Linked DNA regions of Homo sapiens: region 2 is linked to region 1. The links are contacts of gene promoters, found by promoter capture Hi-C in blood cells and fetal thymus (Javierre and others, 2016). All regions are on one chromosome and are shown on one strand. Each heading gives the region's core, a stretch centred on a gene start or on the middle of the fragment in contact. The rest is flanking DNA. Distances are from core to core; before and after follow the strand shown.

Region 1 (7,363 bases), core at 3,588-6,087:
CCATACCTTAAAATTGTCCTGCAAAGTCTCTTGTGGTTAAAATCCATATTCTATAGTGAATCCCCTTCCCCCTTTGTTTTCCTACCTTCCTTCCCAAATCCAGCAGATAATCAACTAAGAGCCAGATACCCTTTTAAGTCCGATAAAAAACAATTTACAACCTGCTCTCTCTGAAGTCTGCTATCTAAGAGCTTCCTCTGTACAATAAAACTTGGTCTCCACAATCCTTTATCTTTAACCTGAGCATTCCTTTCTGTCAATCCCAGGTCTTCAAACAACCTCAACCAATTGTCAACCAGAAAATGTTTAAATTTACCTATAGCCTGGAAGTCCCCACTTTGAGTTGTCCCGCCTTTCTAAACCAAACCAATGCATTTCTTAAATGTATTTGATTGATGTCTCATGCCTTCCTAAAATACATAAAACCAAGCTGTACCCCAACCACCTTGGGCACATGTTCTCAGGACCTCCCGAGGGCTGTGTCATGGGCCATGGTCACTCATATTTGGCTCAGCATAAATCTCCTCATATTTTACAGTTTGACTCTTTTTGTCGACAATCATCTGGCACCCACACATGGGGCCTCAGAGAAGACTCAGGGTCACACTATACATTTAAAAATGGTTAAGATGACCAGGCACGGTGGCTCACACCTGTAATCCCAGCACTTTGGGAGGTGAGGTGGGTGGATCACTCGAGGTCAGGAGTTCGAGACCAGCCTGGGCAACATGGTGAAACCCCATCTCTATTAAAAATACAAAAGTTAGCCAGGCATGATGGTGCATGCCTATAATCCCAGCTACTCAGGAGGCTGAGACAGGAGAATCACTTGAACCCAGTTGGCAGAGGTTGCAGTGAGCCACTGTACTCCAGCCTGGAAGACAGAGCAAGACTCTGTCGCAAAATAAAAAAAGAAAAAAAAAGATGGTTAAGATGATATATTGTGTTATGCGTTTTTAACACAATAAAAAATAAATTATTAATTGAAAACAATGCAAATATCCATCAGCAGGGAATTGGTTATGCTAGAGCTATACAATAAAGTAGCTATCACAAATGATAATACTGGTATCTATTCAGCCACAACCATAGCCCACTGTTGCAAGTTTTTTCAATTTAAAAAAAGCAAAGCATTATATCATTAAAACATGTGTCCATACCTGTAACTAAAGACAGAGATATGTGTAAACAGTGGCATCTCTTGGTAATAGAATTGCAGATGACCTTTACTTTCTTTTTTACATTTTCCCGTGTGGACTAAGTATTACGTACATGGCAAAAGATGGCTTACAAGAGGAAGTGACTGCCACCATTGGCTCCAGAATCCTGGGATGGAATTTTGTTTCCCTCATCATTATGTGTCTGGCACACGTTGAAGGATTAATAAAAATTTGAAAGGCAAGATGAATAGTGGTTAAGAGTTCAGGAATTAGACAGGCCTGGATATGAATCTCAACTCAAATTTATTTAATAGGGGCCTCAGACCTTAAAGCTCTTTTTTTTTTTTTTGTGGTTTGTTTGAGACAGAGTCTCCTGTGTTGCCCCAGGCTGGAGTGCAGTGGCTCAATCACAGCTCATTGCAGCTTTGACCTCCTGGGCCCCAGCGATTCCCTCACCTCAGCCTCCTGTGTAGCTGGACCACAGTTGTGCACCACTACGCCCAGCTAATTTTTTTATTTTTTGTAGAGACTGAAATTTCCTATGTTGCCCAGGCTGGTCTAGAACTGCTAGACTCAAGTGATTCTCTTGCCTTGACATCTTAAAGTGCTGGGATTACAGGTATGAGCCACCAGGTCAGACCTCTACAAGTCTTATTTACCTTCATTGAGCCTCACTTTCTTCAAATATAAAAATGTCAAGAAGACTTACAGTTTGTCATAAGGAAAATGTACTTATCACACATAACATCATTTCTGGCTCAGACGAAACTCAATAAAATGATGGCCATCATTACTATTTAGTGACTAGATTTACACTGGAAGAACTCCTGACACAAACAAATAAAAAAAAAAACTAAGCATCTACAGTAGACTGCATTGCTAAATTATCACTGAATATCCTAATTGCATTAAAAAGCAAGAGACAACACTTTGCCTGGTAGATCTACAAAAATGTCTTGCTGCAAGGTATGGTTACATTCCTATATCTAGCAGGATTACACTATAAAATTTACCATCTTACTTTGTATACAAACATCACTCGTTAGTATTGGACACAGATTAGTGCTTTAGTAAAAACAATGCAAAGAGGAAAACGTGCTTATTTTAATCCAAAGGTAGAATGTAAAGAAGGGACCAAATAAACATACAAAATGTGACTAAAGAAGACTTGACTTAGAGATTGAAACAGTAAGTGACATTACAATTTTGTTTAGCCTCTCTCTTCCTCACAACTTTTGGACAAGGAGCCTGTCTTTTTAGGCACTGCTCTACCCAAAGTCTGGTATAGTACCCAATACAGTGTTAAGCGCTCATACCATAAATACAACAGGATTTATAAGAGAAAATCTCAGTAAAATCATGGAGTAAACTGAATTAGAATTTATCTGAGAAAGTCTCAGTCAAAATAATAAAGCAAAGAGTTTAAGAATAAAGGGCACACGCATAGGGAGGGAAAAACCCTTTTCTGTAACTTGTATCTTCTTTATTCAATCAGTTTTCCTGGGTACCTTAAATGGAATGTCCAAAAGTATACATACAGTCGCCCTTGAACTCTGAAGGAGGCATAAATCAGGGCCTTACGTGCTAAGATTATTAGGCTGTGGGCTCCATGTGGCCGATGAATAAAGGCATCTTTTTAGTGATGCCTTTATTCATCGGTGTATTATAGTTGGCACCCTGTAGTCACACGTTTTTTGTTTTTGTTTTTGTTTTGAGACGGAGTCTCGCTCTGTCACCCGAGGCTGGAGTGCAGTGGCGCGATCTCGGGTCACTGTAACCACTTCCGAAGTTGAAGCGATTCTCCTGCCTCAGCCTCCCGTGTAGCTGGGACTACAGATCCTACAGATCTCTGCCACCACGTCCGGCTAATGTGTGTGTGTGAGTTTTTAGCAGACACAAGATTTCACCATGTTGCCCAGGCTGGTCTCGAACTCCTGACCTCAAGTAATCCTCCCGCCTCGGCCTCCCAAAGTGCTAGGATTACAGGTCTGAGCCACCGCGCCTGTCTGCCACTCGTTTAATAAATGGTCGTTACTCAAAGAGTGGTGATGGGGCCACTCTTGATTATCAATCCTTCAAACAGAAAAGCCCTTTTCTGTGACTCTTTTCCTTCCAAGCTGACTTTAGAAGTGTGTTTGTGGCCGGGCGCGGTGGCTCACGCCTGTAATCCCAGCACTTTGGGAGGCCAAGGTGGGCGGATCACGAGGTCAGGAGATCGAGACCATCCTGGCCAACATGGTGAAACCCCGTCTCTACTAAAAATACAAAAAATTAGCTGGGCTGAGTGGCGCGCGCCTGTAATCCCAGCTACTCCGGAGGCTGAGACAGGAGAATGGCGTGAATCAGTGAGCCAAGATCCCACCACTGCACTCCAGCCTGGGGACAGAGCAAGACTCCGTCTCAAAAAAAAAAAAAAAAAGTGTGTCTGTAAATGTAGTTCAGAACTTCGGAGCCCTGTCTTTACAGTTCAAACTGACCACGCGAAGACTAAAGGCAGTAGAGGTACTTTCTACAAATTTAGCCGTGCAATCTAATAGCGAGCAGGCCGAGACGCCCGCGATTGAAGGCCGGGGTGGAGAAAGTAATAAGGGCCCTGGAAATTACCCCCATCCCATGTCACCCACTCTTTCTTAAAATGCCATTAAATTCCGTTCAACTTTTTATCTCCCATGCAAGAAACTAGCGACTTGCCAGCCACGCCACTTCCAGCCAGTCACACCTGGCGTATTCGCCGCAGAATCTCCAACTCCCGCCACAGGTTTGGGACGTGTCCGCCCCTAAGCGGAAGTGACGTTCAACGGGACAACGTGAAAGTAGATGAGTTTAAATACGTACTAATAATTTAAAACCCCTATGGTATTTTGAGGAAACTCTTCCGGCTACCCTTCTTCCATCACTTCTCTCCCGTTAGGGTTGCGAAAAGGGCTCTGTACAGCCTCGCGACAACTCGTTCTCCGCCCTAATTTCAAGTCATTCAAAACTCTGTCCCTTTTCATTGGCTGAAGCGGCGGCATGGGTACCTCTCAGGAACTACAATTCCAGCCAAGCACCGCGACAAGTGAACGGAGGAGAAGTTATGAGTAGGGGAAAAGCATGTTGGGAATCGTAGTCCGCTCCAGGCCGAAAAGAGCAATCACCCCGCCCTCCGCCACTGAAGCTGGAGAAACCAGGTGTTCGTTTCAGAACCCGTTAGCGCTAAGGGGAGGAGCCAACCCCTTAAGCAGCATGCCTCACTTCGCCCCACATGGAGGATAATTTTCCTTTACCCCTAAAAAGCACTATAAATACCCACTGAGGAGATCTGGTTGTCTTTTAAATACCTCGAGTCAGTAAAAACTCACGAAACTCCGCACCTCAGGCTCCAACTCGTGGGAAAAGGTAGCTCTTTTACAAGTGGGCAAAATGGCTGTCCTCCTAGTTTTACCATTGGTTGGCTTTTGCGTCCTTCAAGGGCGGTTACTTACCACGGATTGGTTCTTTTTCTCTTGAGGTTGGAGGAAGATTTGGCACGGCTCTCCGCGGCCTGGGAGGAGGTAAAGGGGTGGAGAGAAGACAGTTTTTTTCAAGCTTGATTGGGCAAAACTCATGTCACTCCGGGGACGTACAACCTATGAATAGTCGGCTGCCGCTCAAAGAGAACGAAGAGGCGGGGCTAGTGCGTGGTGGGAAGGGGCGGGATTCTGCCAGCCGCGGCTGCCGCTGGAGCCGGTGTCCGGGCTGGTGATGGGGTTAATTCCCTTTCGTAAGACTCTTACTTGCACCCACCCAGCCCCGCCGTCGCCCCGCCGCGCCGCGCTCCAACCGCCTCCTCCTCCTCAGTAACGCGGGTAAGAGATGCCCTTCCCTCCCCCGTCCAGCTCCCCGGGAATAACGCGCCTTGCTCCCCTCCCCCGCCCGCCAACCGGTAGCGCTAACGGAGAAGGAGGCAGGCAGGGGAGAGATGTGGTGTGTGGAAAGGTGGCCTTCCCCGCCGGGTCGTCGGCGCTTCAGCCAGGGCCTTCTGACGTCCCGCTGCTGCCAGCCCGCCGTTAGGTCGGGTTCCGAGTGAGCCAGGCTCGCCTGGCCCGCGGCTGCGGCTCCGGCTGCAGCTGCAGCCACTGCCTTGTGCCCACCGCCCCCACCCGGGGGCCATGTGAAAAGCAAACCCCTCGAGGCCTAGCGGAGGAGGCAGGGGAAAGGTTTCCGAGTCCCTGCCATGGCTGCTGCTGCTGCCTCCGCGGCTGCTCTTGCAGCCCCAGGGACTCGGGAGCCAGCCACAGCAGGCCTGCCAAGAGCGTGGTACTGCTCTCTCGTGTGGCTGGCGCCGGTGCCCCGGGCTCCCCCGGCCGCCCCACGGCCGCATCCCCTGGCCTTGCACCAAGAGAATTTTCAGCTTCGACCGGTTGGTAAAATGTAGGTACATTTTCCCTGTGGTACCAGAAAAAGCACAATGGGAATATTAAAAAGAAAGTTGAATGACTGTCAGTGCCACGGTCCCCCGGGATCAGATTTACACACGTTTTGATTCCTGAGCCTTAGGCTGCCAACAAATCTTTGTGGGCTTTGAAGTTTTTTGGTGTTTTGTTTTCTTTTGTTGCTGTGACTAGGTGCAAAGGGTGACTCTGTTGAGCTTGTTTTTATAAAGAAACTTAAATTATTGGGACTATCATGCTCCGTGTGTAATTGTCCTGGGATAGTTAAGTAAAAGGTGAAGAAGAGGTGCTTTCCAAATTAGGATTAGTGAACAGCAAATGGTTTTTCTAATAAAATTTTCTAAATATATATATATATATCTTCATGGTTATAGTTTACCTAATTGTAACTGTAAGAAACCTTTTTTAGCTTAAATATCATTGATGACAAAAACTTTTAAATGAAAAGATGATTAAAGTCAAACTGAAAGTCTACCCATTTATAATATGTGAAACAAGATCTTCTAAGTAATAGGATACCAGTCTGACAGGAATAATTGGACACGTCTCAATTTCTAAAAATTTGGCATATTTGGCTATTTTTAGGGCATTCTGTTATGATTTCTTCATCACATTTTGATGGAGTACGCTCGTCTTTTCAAATACCACTCTGCTTTTATGCCTGGAAGAATATGTCTTTAAATCATGGATTCTATAGTCTGTAGTAGACATAACTGTGATCAGAGATAAAATTCTAGGCCCATTTCTGAGGTTTACTTGTTAGCAGAATAAACTTGGGTTCTGAGGAAACATCTGAGTTTTGATCATTTCTTCAGGGTTTGAGAAGACTATGGTGGCTTAATGATCTTCTGTATTCCATAACTAGTACACCTAGTTACAGAATTGACATAGATACATTCAGGTCCTGGAGGAAATTTGTGGTATCTATTAAAAAAATGAAAATTGCCAGTCATGTAGTAGTCACCTGTAGTCCCTGCTACTCAGGAGTGTGAGGTGAGAGGATCACTTGAGCCCAGGAGTTCAAGGCCAGCCTAGGCAATATAGCAGAACATGGTCTCAAAAAAATAAAGAAATAAATACACAGCCTTGGAAGGCAAGTCCCCTGAGATCCCCACAGAGTTCCTGTAACATATATTGCCAGCTGCCAGCATAGTATTTTCCAGAACTTAAGAGTTAATTGATAAATTATACAATCGATACTTTCAGATCTTGGGTGATTTATATAGAGAAAGAGCTGTTGAAAATTTAGGAGTCTTCTACATTTTCTTCCTGGCTGTTGGATCCCTCCATGAACCTCAGTTCGGTTTCCTCATCTGTAAAATGAGGATGATAATGCTTAACTTAGGGAGTTATGAAAATTAGAGATAAATATATAATAGTGGCCGGGCGCGTTGGCGCACCTGTAATCCCAGCACTTTGGGAGGCTGGGCGGGCGGATCACCTGAGGTCGGGAGTTGGAGACCAGCCTGACCAACATGGAGAAACCCCGTCTCTACTGAAAATACAAAAAATTAGTCGCTCATGGTGGCGGGCACCTGTAATCTCAGCTACTCGGGAGGCTGAGACAGGAGAATCGCTTGAACCTGGGAGGCAGCGGTGAGCCGAGATCAGGCCATTGAACTCCAGTCTGGGCAACAAGAGCGAAACTCCATCTTAAAAAGAAAGAAAACAGAAAATTAGAGGTAAAGTATGTAAATCCCCTAGCATTGTGCCTGACACAGTTTGTGCAATAAATATTAACTGTTATTTTCATGCATATTTAGAGAATGGGTTTGTTGTTCATATGCTGAG
Region 2 (7,363 bases), core at 4,520-7,019, about 17 Mb after region 1:
TGATGTGCCAAGAACTGTGCTCAGCACCTATAGGCTTCTTAAAAAGTACAGAACATAGCCCCTGCCCTCTAAGAGCTTACAATCTATTACTTGTTGGAAAATTAAAGCAAATTAAGAAACCATAAAACAAGTCAATAACTAGGTGCCAAAATAAGTGAAACGGTAAGAGTTATGGGTAGATTACAAATATTTTCTTTAATAATCTGAAGGGGAGGTATATGTTGGCAAAAGTCATTTTTGAGAAACTTTTGGAGAAGGCAGGACTTGAAATAGTACAACATAGGTAAGCAAAGCAAACTTCATGGTGATACTGAGCTGGGGGCAGGAGGGTAAGAAGAACAGCCTAAGTTTGAAGTTGTGAACTAATATAATCACTCAAGACACCGTGAAAAGACCAGCCTAAGTTCAAATTAGGGAGTGTAAAGACATGCAGCCTTGAATCCTGCTTTGACATGTACTATGGGGAGGTTCTTTAAAGTTAAGCTGTGGAATTTAGATACTATGTTATAGGCACTGAAAGTACTGGAGATTCTTGGGCAAGGAGATAACACATTGAAATCTAAAATTTGTGGGGGCAGGGGGGCATCCTTGAAGCAAGAAAACCAACTCAACTCAAAAACTGTTGAATAACCTAGGCATGGGAGAGTGACGACTTGGGCTCATGTGGTAGCAGGAACTGAAATAAAATAAGATCTATTAGAGCCAGCCTTACTCAATATAGGAGCAAGAAAATCAAACTCATTTGTAAAAAGCAATTATTCATTTATCAGTTTACTGACCAAAGACCAAAAAAAAAAAGCACTGAATAAATAGAATTAGGGAGGCATTACTAAAGGAATTTTCTGTTCTTTCCATATCATCCCATAAAATCTGATATCTACTCTTATCAAATGATCTGAACTGAATCATAGGATGTTAGAGCTGAAAGGGACCTTAACTCAATTACTCTACTCTTCTCACTGATAGAGGAAAATAAAGACTCAAATAGGGAGGAAAAAAAAAGAGCCAGCTAGCATGACTCTGGGGCAAAGGCATAATCATCTGTGATAAAGATGGCAGGACCTGCATGTCCTTTGTGTAGAAAACACAAAAGACATGAAAACAGTATTTACTATGGACACTGAGGAAGAAGACAGCCTCACACATAATTTTATTGATAGAAATCTCTACAGAAAATCTTTATTTTTTTGAGATAGGGTCTCACTTTGTCACCCAGGATGGAGTGCAAGGCGTGATCTTGACTCACTGCAGCCTCGACCTCCCAGGTTCAAGCAATCCTTCTGCCTCAGCCCCCTAAGTAGCTGGGACGACAGACGCACACCACCACACCCAGCTTATTTTTAAATAGTTTTTGTAGAGATGGGGTTTCACCATGTTGCCCAGGCTGGTCTCCAACTCCTGAGCTCAAGCGATGCACCCGCCTCAGCCTCCCAATGGGAAATTTTTGAGTACTGCCATCCAGCAGGGAAAATTCTTTATCTTTCTTTACTAACATTTAACCAGTGATCCTCAAAGCATCTTAAATCACATATTATTTAAAGCTTAAACAACCTGTAAGGTCCCTTTCAGCTATAAGATCCTATAACTCTAAAAGTATGACTTTCCTATAAAGTTATATAGAATAAGAGGCAAATTTAATCTACAAGATAGAAAACTGAAATAAACCTGAAAGAATATTAAGCTCAATTTGATAATCATCAAATATTTATTACTACTAAGAGTCAGCCTAAATGCATGAGATGGCACTCTAGGTCATCTCATGAATTAAGAAAAAAAAAATTTGAACACACCACTTCTTTAAGCTAAATAGCTTGATGCATTTGAGAAATTATGAACCCTGGCTTCCGTACATCATTATGCTACCCAGTCTGCATATTATTTTACAAACAAGTTTTACAGTTTCATGTCATATTGGTAACATTCCAAAGACCACAATTATTTGGCAAGTAAGACTGCCACCAATTTTAGTCTTTAGCTAGTCCCAGCATGAGATGTTCATGCAAACCAGTCAACACATGAAGGTTTTTATAACCTTCAGTCCCAAAGTCTAAAGAATTTGTGAACTGACTTTTTTAAATTGCATGGCAGAACCCTCCCAACTGTCACTACTGTGAATGATACAGACAGACATCCTGCTTCTTCTCAATTATCTTCTGACCACTTATTCCTCCTGAGTACTTCCAAGAGTGGCAGAAGAAATAATGCAGGAAAAAGGATCAATTGTCCTATTTATTATCACCTTTAATTTTTAAAGCAATGTTTACAGAGTTTCAAATATGATTTCTGATTTGAGAATTCAAATTATCCATGCTCTCCCAGTCTGTTATAAAGCTAAAACAAGAATTTGTTTTACCAAGATTTGGGACCCATATTTGTTAGTGAAATATTAAGGGGATAAAAGGGAATTATATAATTCTGACAAAAACAGCGGAGATTCTTTTGGGACTTTCAGGGCATAACTCCTACTAAAACATTTATTTATTATACTAACAGGAGCCTTCAGAGGGAGAAGAATTCTAAACATCTAAATAATTAGGTCTACTTAAAGGCACGTGGCATATATTAGCCTAGGAAAAAGTAGAAGAAAACCACACCAAAAAAATCAGTTATTTGAATGGATGTGTACCGAGTAGCAAGTAAACTTACTAGAAAGATGGTCACTGATACAGCTAAAGAGAAAGGGCCATAAAGCAAACTGTGACCAGCTTATGTCAATGAGATACATGAAAGTACTTTTAAAAAATAAAATCTGCATTTTTTTTTTTAACTAGAACTATGACTAGCTGGTATCTTGGTTTTGGTAGTGCAATAGCACCATTACAGCAAGGGTAAGCAGGTCAATCCCTTGCAAAACTTACCTTGATTGGCCCAATGGAAACAGAAGGCCCCAGAAAAGAGAGAAGCATCTGGCAGTAGCAAATTGTTTTATTTTATCTTTCTGTGGAAAGAAACTAATTTTAAATAAGAACCAGAGCATTTAAAGAATAAATATTTTTAAAGCTCATTATCTAGTTAGAGCAGCTCTACCAAGAAAACAAGAAGAGCTCCTTGCTCCTTAGAGATGGAAAGAAACAGAAGAGGAATCAAAGTTGTTTCTCCATCACCTAGAGAGTTTTAAAATTTGTGTTATTCTAGAGTAACAGAATAAAAGGCTCTTTTATTTAAAGAACTCCTGCAAGCAGAATCTTTTGGGGCTGGTGCCTTTGAATAAAGGTTTTGTTTTGTTTTTTAACAAAATTAAGGGCAATATTCCAAATTAAAAAAAAAAAGAGGAAAATCACTGGACATTAAGCCCTTCTACTCTTAAGGTTAAGTAAAAAGAGACAGACACATAGCAAGCTCCTTTTCCCACTGCAATTTCACCAATAACTTTAACCATGAAAGCTTAAACAATTATCAAACAGTACTAATTAGCAAAAGATCACATGAAATTGGCTTCCAAAATATTTTGTTAGCCTAAATTTTTGATGATTTATGGAAATACTCAAATGGAAATAACCCAGCCACCTAAAGATCTATTATAGAACTTAACATGAAGCACAAAATTACTCATGGTAACTGAACCTGTTACCTTTCTTGGATGCTTCTCTAGAAACTCAGTTCTACCGAAATCACTGAATCAGCATTAAAACCTTTTGATCCAAATCACTCCTACAAAATGTCCATTTACAATTTATGCTAGAGATGGAAGGGACAGCTCATAAGCAGGAGTGTAGAAGCAACAAGCATTAAAAAAAAATAGTATAAGTGGAAAATGAACTACCTATTGGCACTGTCCTATGAAGAATCAGAATTATAGAGCACAAACTCCCCACCCTCCCTCACCCTCCTCCAACACACAAAGAGGAAGATATTTCAGGAATAAAATTCGCTCTAAACCAAAACAATAGCTATTTTCAGATTCTATTTATTTACATGGTCTACCAAAATCAGTTATGTTGCTGTATCAGATAATATTTACTTAGACCATCAACTTCAATTGGCATTCTTGAAAAAATAATCATTAAAAATAAAAGCCTGGATCCACACTTTACTTTTAAATAATAAAGAAAAAAATTCTTAGTTTTGAGGTCATCAGTAAATTTCTCAGAAGACTTTTTCATTATTTAAATTTCTCAGAAGACTTTTCCATTATTCAAATTTCCGTTACAGTCATGATTTAACATTTGGCTTATTTGAAATTATTCGGGCATAAACTAATCATTAAACAGCTATAACTACTGACCTAGATTCTGAAATCTTGATAGAATACCTGAGGCAAAAACAAATAAATAAATGCAAAATAAAACAAAAACAGTCTTACTTGTCCCATTGGTGGCCCTCCCATAGGGGGCATCATCTGCGGCATCATTCCATGAGGTACAGGAGGCATATTCGCTCTCTGACCCATAGGGTGCATTCCCATTGGGGCATAATGCATGCCAGGGTGCCCCATCTGAAAAACAGTGAACATTTTTAAATGAGCAAATAATACTAAATGCTTCTCAAAAATCTCATTTCAACAGATCAGTTATCTGAAGCGACATAATATTAAGCTTATGTGTAATAACATCATTGGATTAGTCTATACCTTGTTTCAAACAAAACGCATTCTGCTAGTATTTAAAACGAGCTTGCAAATTCCGTAAAAAAATGGGAAAAGTTAAGATGAATCCTGGACCGCTGGATCATAGGTTTTCTCTCTCTTTTTTTTAAGCACTGACTTAACCAGCTACTAATTGGCTTGCTAAGCTTGGAGGATACACATTGAATACTAATTTTAAAACTGTTATGGTGAAAACAACAACTCTCCTATTTCATGCAGATATAAAAGATAGCCAGCTATTGTTATTTTATAACACTACTGATTTTAAACTTTAAAATGCTCTATCCAATTAACTCAGGTGAGAGTCGGTCTTACAAAACACAAACAGTATGGCTACCCAGGCACAATTCACTCCTAACAAACTTATTTCCTAACATAACCTTTAAGACAGGTAAAATTCCTTCTGCCAAAAATACATTTTCAAAGACTGAGGTTCTGTCACTCACGGACACTAAATGCAAACAACTAATTCATCCTTTTTAACGCAGTTTAAAAAGACAACTACTTTCTTTACCGATGAGTCCATTGTTCTATGTTTTAAATTAAAACCACCTAATTATCTCCTGCCAATTGTCCCAACAGTTCCCCCTGCAGACCACCCCGACGACTAATGAAAACAAATTTTGGCAGCCGCTGTTAAAGTCTTACAGTATCAAGCCCCTGCCTCCCCCTCCCAGCTAAAATCGGGCCTAAAGCTCCAAGACGCTCACCCCGCCCAAGAGCCAGCACCTTCACCACGCATCTGTCTAGGCCAAGCCCACGGGGAACTTCCAGGGTCTCACATCCTTCTCTTTGTGCATTTCCACCCTCCACTTCTCTCCCTCAGAACATATCCCACCATCTCGAGTTCTTCCTTCGTCCACTCTTATCTTCTTCTCCTTTCGGAGAAAGCTTCCTGTTTCTCACTCCGTTTTTCATTGTGCCGCCTTCCCCCTGCCCCACTGATCCCTTACCGAGGGCCGTCTCCTCAGGAAGCCGTCAGCAGAGACCCAAGAGCCGGAGCAGAGGCTTGAGCCGGACAATCTCCGCTCCCCGTCCCCAGGACCCTGCGAGGGAGGATGGCTCTCCATTTCACTCACCATGAGGCCTCCACGCTCAGCTCCCGTCCCCGGCCTCATCGTCGGGCTCAGACTGCTCCGCCGGCGGCCACTGCCGCTACACATACCAACAAGAAGCGATCTGAGTGGCTGGCGCCCACTGGGGCTAAAGGTTAAAGGCTGCCCTGCGCTACGGGGCGGGATCAGCGGGGCCAACAGGCTGACGGGCTTCCCCGCTGTCCAATCAGAATGCGCCGCCGACACGCAGCTCTGCGGCGATTCGCCCCCAGCCTCAGCCTCACTCGGCGTCGCCTGCATGGGGGGGGGGGAGGAGGAGGACGGAGGAAGTTTCTGCGCCGAGTCCTCCGTCGGGAAAACTCTACCAACTTCCCCAGGGGAAGGGAAGACAACAGTGTCCCAGCTTCCCGAGCTTAGACCGCCTCACCCCGTAGGGGGTGGGGCAGTGGGGGTCTGCCACCTTCACCCTCCCCGCCCGAGTTACGTACGCCCCACAAACCTGAGGCCGCCAGGGGTAGGGTGGAGGGGGCGGGGGTAAGCAGCCTGTAGTGTTAGCGGTGGCTGGGACCGAATGCGCGCGCGCGGTGCTCGAGGCGGAGGGGAGGAGGCGGGGAAGGCGAAAGGAGGGGTTCGGAGGAGAGGGTTCGATCTCCGTACGCACCAGGTGGAGAGCGCGCGCCTGGGGAAGGAGGCGTGTCGAGTAGCGGGAGGGAAGTTGTAGTACGGGTGGGGAGAACCACACTAAAGGGAGATGGGGGTGAGCAGTTAAGGAACCGCGAGAGCGCCAGGTAGAGAGGTGCCCTTAATGGGGGAACCTGGAGAAGAGTGTGAGCGTAGTGGGGAAGAAGGGAGAAGACAAATAGGTTCGGGAATGTGTCTCCGAGGGCGCGAGCGGGCGCTAGGACCCGGCGTCGAAAAGATGAGGCTTTGGGGCTGTCGGGGCGCGCGCTCCCGTTGGTGACGCGGGGGTGGCGGAGGTCTCCGGCCGGGACGAAGCCCCGCAGGGAGTGGATACTCGACAGCCTTCGGCCTCCGCTCGCTTCTCCCTGCGCGCTTTCCTGCTCCCCTTTCCGGCTACAGCCCTGGGGTCGAGCTCTGGTCGAAGCGCATTCCGCCTCTCCTTTGGCCCTGCGGCTTCCTTTGCAACCCGCCGCCCACCCTTGCTCTCCGTGGTTTACCCCTGGGCTCTGAGGCCTGGTGGTAGCGGCCACTGCCGCGGATTGGCTGTTGCGGACCCGGGGCGGGGCAGGTGGGAGAGGCTCGTTCTCCGCGGGTTTCGTTGTGTTTCGCGCCATGTCGTTTGCTGAGAGCGGGTGGCGGTCGGCTCTGCGGCGCCGCGGTCCCGGCACCCCGGGCCCTGTGGCTCGGCCATCGTATTCCTCCTTTACTCAGGGGGACAGCTGGGGTGAAGGCGAAGTCGACGAGGAGGAGGGATGCGACCAAGTGGCCCGCGACCTGCGGGCGGAGTTCTCGGCTGGGGCGTGGTCAGAGCCCAGAAAGCGCTCGGTGCTCCCGCCGGACGGGAACGGGTCGCCCGTTCTGCCCGATAAGCGCAATGGTATCTTTCCCGCGGCCGCGGGCAGCAGAGCCCAGCCTCGGCGGTGGCCGGTCCAGGTCCTCTCTATTCTCTGCTCGCTGCTCTTCGCCATTCTTCTCGCCTTCCTCCTCGCCATCGCCTACTTGATCGTTAAAGGTATTGAAGCCGACGCCTTGAAAGTCTGTC

Evidence for each region. Contacts are between HindIII fragments. The CHiCAGO score rates a contact against its expected background, and 5 or more counts as called.
Region 2: a contact is called between the fragment with the promoter of PRPF40A here and the fragment with the promoter of R3HDM1 in region 1, in 3 of 17 cell types (non-activated CD4 T cells, total B cells and naive CD4 T cells). The highest score is 10.8, in non-activated CD4 T cells.

Annotation. Positions count from the first base shown.
Region 1 is chr2:135,526,647-135,534,009 of GRCh38, forward strand. It overlaps R3HDM1 (R3H domain containing 1), which reads left to right and starts at 4,838. Exons shown (of 27, transcript NM_001378107.1): 1 at 4,838-4,987. ZRANB3 (zinc finger RANBP2-type containing 3) reads right to left here and starts at 4,572. Exons shown (of 21, transcript NM_032143.4): 1 at 4,481-4,572. RefSeq lists enhancers at 3,885-3,964, 4,315-4,584, 4,553-4,847 and a silencer at 4,815-5,004. The HindIII fragment of the contact is 3,394 bases long and covers 4,726-7,363 here.
Region 2 is chr2:152,711,692-152,719,054 of GRCh38, forward strand. It overlaps PRPF40A (pre-mRNA processing factor 40A), which reads right to left and starts at 5,770. Exons shown (of 26, transcript NM_001365597.4): 1 at 5,539-5,770; 2 at 4,304-4,435. The coding sequence starts at 5,748. It overlaps ARL6IP6 (ARF like GTPase 6 interacting protein 6), which reads left to right and starts at 6,929. Exons shown (of 4, transcript NM_152522.7): 1 at 6,929-7,333. The coding sequence starts at 6,934. RefSeq lists enhancers at 5,470-5,769, 6,318-7,023, 6,490-6,559, 6,580-6,669, 6,900-7,099 and 2 more and a silencer at 6,170-6,269. The HindIII fragment of the contact is 8,844 bases long and covers 5,475-7,363 here.